Linked DNA regions of Homo sapiens: region 1 is linked to region 2. The links are contacts of gene promoters, found by promoter capture Hi-C in human tissues and cell types (Jung and others, 2019). All regions are on one chromosome and are shown on one strand. Each heading gives the region's core, a stretch centred on a gene start or on the middle of the fragment in contact. The rest is flanking DNA. Distances are from core to core; before and after follow the strand shown.

What was found. Contacts are between HindIII fragments. The study calls those that stand out against the background at their distance.
Region 1: a contact is called between a fragment that was not itself captured here and the fragment with the promoter of PSMA8 in region 2, in 1 of the 25 tissues and cell types used here (dorsolateral prefrontal cortex).

Annotation. Positions count from the first base shown.
Region 1 is chr18:24,680,409-24,683,108 of GRCh38, forward strand. No RefSeq gene overlaps it. Among named protein-coding and RNA genes, the nearest start is that of LINC01915, 54 kb to the left of the region's middle. The HindIII fragment of the contact is 5,054 bases long and covers 1-2,700 here.
Region 2 is chr18:26,132,446-26,135,145 of GRCh38, forward strand. PSMA8 (proteasome 20S subunit alpha 8) reads left to right here and starts at 1,424. Exons shown (of 7, transcript NM_001025096.2): 1 at 1,424-1,622. The coding sequence starts at 1,521. The HindIII fragment of the contact is 10,391 bases long and covers 1-2,700 here.

The DNA.
Region 1 (2,700 bases), core at 167-2,666, 1.5 Mb before region 2:
TAATTCTCTTCCTCTTGAGTCCAGAATGGCTCTGGCACCTGTTTTGACCTGTAGAATGTGGTAGAAGTCTCTGCCAGTCTTCTGAGGCTGGGGCCTCAAGAGAGCTGCAGCTTCCATTTTTACTGCTTGGGACATGCCCTCTTGGAAGCCAGCATCCATGCAAGATGTGTGATTAGCCTGAGATTAGTATGCTGTGAGGAAGCCCAAGCTAGCTGTGTGGAGAGAGTGAGAGAGAAACTGGCCACCAGGGAACACTGAGGTGTCAGGCAGGTACATGAAGCCTTGTTGGAACTTCTAGCCCAGTTGGGCCACCAGCCAATGCTGCAGGGAGCAGGACTATTCAGCCTATCCTTGTCTGAATTTCTGTCCCACAGAATTGTGGGCAAGTAAAATAGTTATTTTCTAAGCTTCTGTGTTTTGGGGTAGTTTGTTACACAGCACTAGGTAATCAAAAGAATTGGCTCGTACCACCCACCATTTCCCCTGAAGGAAAGTTTACTTTGGAAACCAAATCGACTAATGAATCAGAGAATCAGGGCAGAAAGAAATGTTCTCAACGAGATCCAGGACTACATTTCTCAGGCTTCGCACTTGATCTGGGAATCGTCTCTTCTTGCCGGTCTCAGAAGGCATTGCCCTCAATTTTTCTCCTCATGAGTGCCATTTTCCCATTGTTATAAGGTGGTCTTGTTAGTTCTTCTGATTACTCTAAGTTTTACATCAGATTACAACCGTTTTGTGTCAGGCAACTAGTAGGCACTCAACAAGGTCATTTGACGAAAATATAAGGAACTCCTGCATTGCCGTGCTAGGCACTGTGGATGCAAGAACAAATATGTCATGGTCCCTGCCCTCAAAAAGCTTATAATTTATTACGCGGAGAAAAGTCGTGTTCAGGTAATTATAATTCAACCCTATGCCATGATGGTTTCCTGAGACACATGAGTGATTATTTCCGGCTTGGTAGAAGATTTCCTAGTGAGAATGATATCAGGCCTTGGCCTGGGAGGGTGAGTAGGAGCTCGGCAGGAAGGGAAGTTTTTCAGAGTCATCCTACTAGAGGGAGTACTGAGAATGAAAGTCCCTGAGCTTGGGAAACTACAAGGTATGAGGCCGGGGCATAGCGAGAATGAGGGAAGATGGGATTGGAAAGGTAGCCTGTGGTCTGATTATGCCAGTTTTTTTGGATACTCACTCCTTAGCCAATGAGTTAGAAGTTTGTCTTGTTGAAATTGGTGAGCTTTGGAAGGTTGAGGTGAGAGGAGATCACATCTGTGTTCCTATGTCATGGGTTGTGGACCGTCTTTCCCGTCTTATCACATGTACTGGGACTCTTTGTTAATATAAAGTTGATATTGTAGGAAAGGCACAAATGGATGAGTAACTCAAAGCATGACCCTAGAGGAAGGTGGCTTGATGACCCAAGGAGTAGCTTATCACTTTACCAGTTAAGAATAGAGAGAATTAAGATCTAGTGTTAAATAGGTCAGTAGGGTGGCCATAGTTTGCAATACTCCATTGTATATTTTAAAATAGATAGAAGAGAATAATTCAAATGTTTCTAGCATAAAGAAAAGACAAATATTTAAGGTGGTAGATATATCAATTACACTGATTTTATCTTAACAAATTGTATGAATGTATTAAGTTATCACATGTACCCCCAAAATGTATGCATCTATCATGTACCAATAAAAAAAATAGGGGAAATATATTTAGATCCTTTTGTTTGACTGTCCAACTCTTAGGAAGTGTAACATCTGCAGGGTGCAAGGAAATGTGACTTTGGAGAGATGTTTTTTCCTGGCCTCAGAGAACACAGTAGGGTCAGTTCCCAGAGCACTCAGAAAGGTTTTTGTGGTGAGGGAAAACTGCAGTTTCTCTCAACCTGTGTTGTGTGCCAGAGATGATTACATATCCTCTCAATAACACAGTAAGCATTGCTTCTTACCAAATGTCCCCTGTAGCCTGAGTTTATCTCAAAAGAATTCTCTGAGATCTTAGTAAGCCGCATTTATGAAAAACTTTGCAGAATGAATATTGTCAAGCAGGCTGCTGTCTTTGGCTGTTTTGTTGTGAAAGGTGCTGAGGACTAGAAAATGAGGTTATCAATCTGGGCTCAGCCACTGACCTGCTGAACTCTTAACCCCAGGAGTAAACCACTCATTCACATGGTTACAGAGTTTGATAGGTCTGTAGAGGGCCTACTATGTGTCAAGCACCGTGCAAACAATGAGTGGTGCTCACCTTGCTAGTGTGGAGTGAGCAGTGCAGTGAGGGACAAAGGCAGGGAGCACCAAGGGAAGGTTCTAGATGGTTGCTTATTGAACAGGTACGGCTGTAATGTTCCCTTTTGTGATTTTGTTGAGGTGGAGTCTTGCTTTGTCACCCAGGCTGGAGTGCAGTGGTGCAGTCTCAGCTCACTGCAACCTCCGTCTCCCGGGTTCAAGTGATTCTCCTGCCTCCCTTTTGTGATATTTATCTTGAGTTTCCATATAAGGATTATGCTGGCTTTGTAAAATGATTTGTGAAGTTTTCTTGTTTTTATGCCATGGGATATTTTTATTTATTTATATTGATATATATTAGATGTACATATTTTCTGTACCTTTGATTATTTGATACATTCATTTAATCAGATCAGGGTAATTGGGATAGCCATCACCTTAAATAGTGACATTTTCTTTGTTAGGAACATTC
Region 2 (2,700 bases), core at 174-2,673:
GCAGGAGGATTGCTTGAGACCAGGAGTTTGAGACCAGCCTGGGCAACATAGGGAAACCAAGTCCCTACGTTAAAAAAAAAAGTATTAATAATTAAATAAATTGTTTAAGTCAATTAAAATTCTGATTTAAGTATTTGGAATTCAGGGAATCAAATTTTTCCTCTTTTGAGGAAATTATTCTTTTTTTCTTTTTTTTGGTTAAAGTTGATTTCACCAACTTTAAGATCCTCCCCAGTGGAAAACTGCATATATTAAACAACACATGGAAAGCAATAATAGCTAAACTTACCTGGCTATTACTGCCCACCAGGCACCATTTTATGTAATTATGCCCATAAACACATATTAAGCTCAGAATACTCTGCTGCAGATTTTTTAATATTCCCATTTTATTGATAAGGAGAAAGCGACAGAGTTGTTTCATAGTTAGTAATGTAGCAAGTTGTAAAGAGTTTCTGCTATAGCTAAATTTCCAGACATCTTTTAAGTCTCATACTTTGGGCTTTTACAAAATTTCTCCAATTAAAAGAATATTATCTGGGCCGGGCGCGGTGGCTCACGCCTGTAATCCCAGCACTTTGGGAGGCCGAGGCAGGCGGATCACGAGGTCAGGAGATCAAGACCATCCTGGCTAACACGGTGAAACCCAGTCTCTACTAAAAATATAAAAAATTAGCCGGGCGTGGTGGCGGGCGCCTGTAGTCCCAGCTGCTCCGGAGGCTGAGGCAGGAGAATGGCGTGAACCCGGGAGGTGGAGCTTGCAGTGAGCCGAGATTGCACCACTGCACTCCAGCCTGGGCGACAGAGCGAGACTCCGTCTCAAAAAACAAAAAACAAAACAAAACAAAAAAAAGAACATTATCTTAATTCTCATCATTAGCTTAGTTTGATGGACTATTTGCTTTATTTAACGGACCATTTGCTCATCTGCTCTATTTTGCTCACAAGGCAGAAAATATCAGAAGCAACAATATTTTGAAGTTTGCTTTCTTTCCTTCGGTTCAAATAACAAGAGTTAACCTGAGAGAGAGAAAGAAAAAGTAGGAAATTTAGAATTTGAAACCAAAGGGAAGGGACTGATATTTAACTTACCACAGTTTCTCCAACATGTATGCGATAACAAAAATATCTGATATTTGAAGACCTCATTTTTAAGCCCTAATCTTTGATATTATTTTTATAACTCGAGTGCCGTGACACCATCCCTGGGGCAACACGGTAGTGGGGAAATGGAGATATGCGCTATGCGTCAGACATGAAGGGTAAGGGAAGAATGCCGTCAACTCACAGGCACTGCTTGGGTGACAAAGGCTGGCAAGCGCGAGGACATCCGCAGGCAGCCAAAGGAGCAAGGACTTCCGTGAAGCAGCCGAAGCGCGGGCGCGGGGACTTCCGGGAGGCAGCTTGAGGCGCGTGTGGAAGCGCTTCCGGGCGGTAGCACGCTGTGTTGGCGGCGGCTCCCCGCTTGCCTCAGCTGCAGCAGCGGGAAGCTCGGTGGCAAGCCCTTGTAGTCCTGTGCGATGGCGTCTCGATATGACAGGGCGATCACTGTCTTCTCCCCAGACGGACACCTTTTTCAAGTTGAATATGCCCAGGAAGCGGTGAAGAAAGGATCCACCGCGGTGAGGAAGCAACTATTACCGGACTATTCCCCGCTCTGACCTGTCAGGCCATCGTTACCCTGCTGCCCCAGCCCACCTTTCCATCCTAGGAGCTCAAGAGAGGAGATTCCCACACTTGTGAAAATTACTTTGTTCTTTTTATTTAGGGAGACAGACTTCTAGATTTGGGCCGGAAGTGGGCAGAGTAAAAGTTAGTAGATTTCCCCTATCTCTGCTGTTCAACTGCCTCTGTTTCATGGTAGCTACAGACGCAAAACTAGGGTGTGTGTGTGGGTGTGTGTGTGTGTGTGTGTGTGTCTCTGTGTGTGTGTGTGTGTGTGTAGGGACGTTAATGATGTGATTGACAATAGGGAAAGCTTCTAATCTGTAACAGCCTACCTATTGAACGCTCGTGGTCCAGTTCCTTGGTAGTTCAGAGACCCCTGGAAAAGTTAACAGTTGCTTCATGTTGGGAACTGTTTTTTAATAACAGTTACAATAAAAAATAAAAGTTGGCCACACCTGCTCCCCAAATACGGACTAAATCAATATAAAATTAAACTTTTGTTGATGAAGAAATGATTAAAAACACAGTTCAAACACACGCGTTAAAAATATCCCAAAATTGCTGGGCGCAGTGGCTCACACCTGTAATCCCAGCACTTTGGAAGGCCCAGGAGGGCGGATCACCTGAGGTCGGGAGTTTGAGACCAGCCTGACCAACATGGAGAAACTCCGTCTCTACTAAAAATACAAAATTAGCCAGGCGTGGTGGCGCATGCCTGTAATCCCAGCTACTCGGGAGGCTGAGGCGGGAGAATCGCTTGAACCTGGGAGGCAGAGGTTGCGGTGAGCCGAGATCGTGCCATTGCACTCCAGCCTGGGCAACAAAAGCGAAACTCCGTCTCGGGAAAAAAAAAAAAAATCCCAAAATTGTCCCAATATTTCCCAGCCTTGTAGAGGCTCAAAAGTCCAAGAACTTCCACTTTTTTGGCCACTTAAAAAATAATGCTGGAAGTTCCTTGAGAGATTACACCCTACCTTAGATTTATGTATCCACATTACTGAAAAACTTAAAAAATACTCAGGGTAGGAGTAA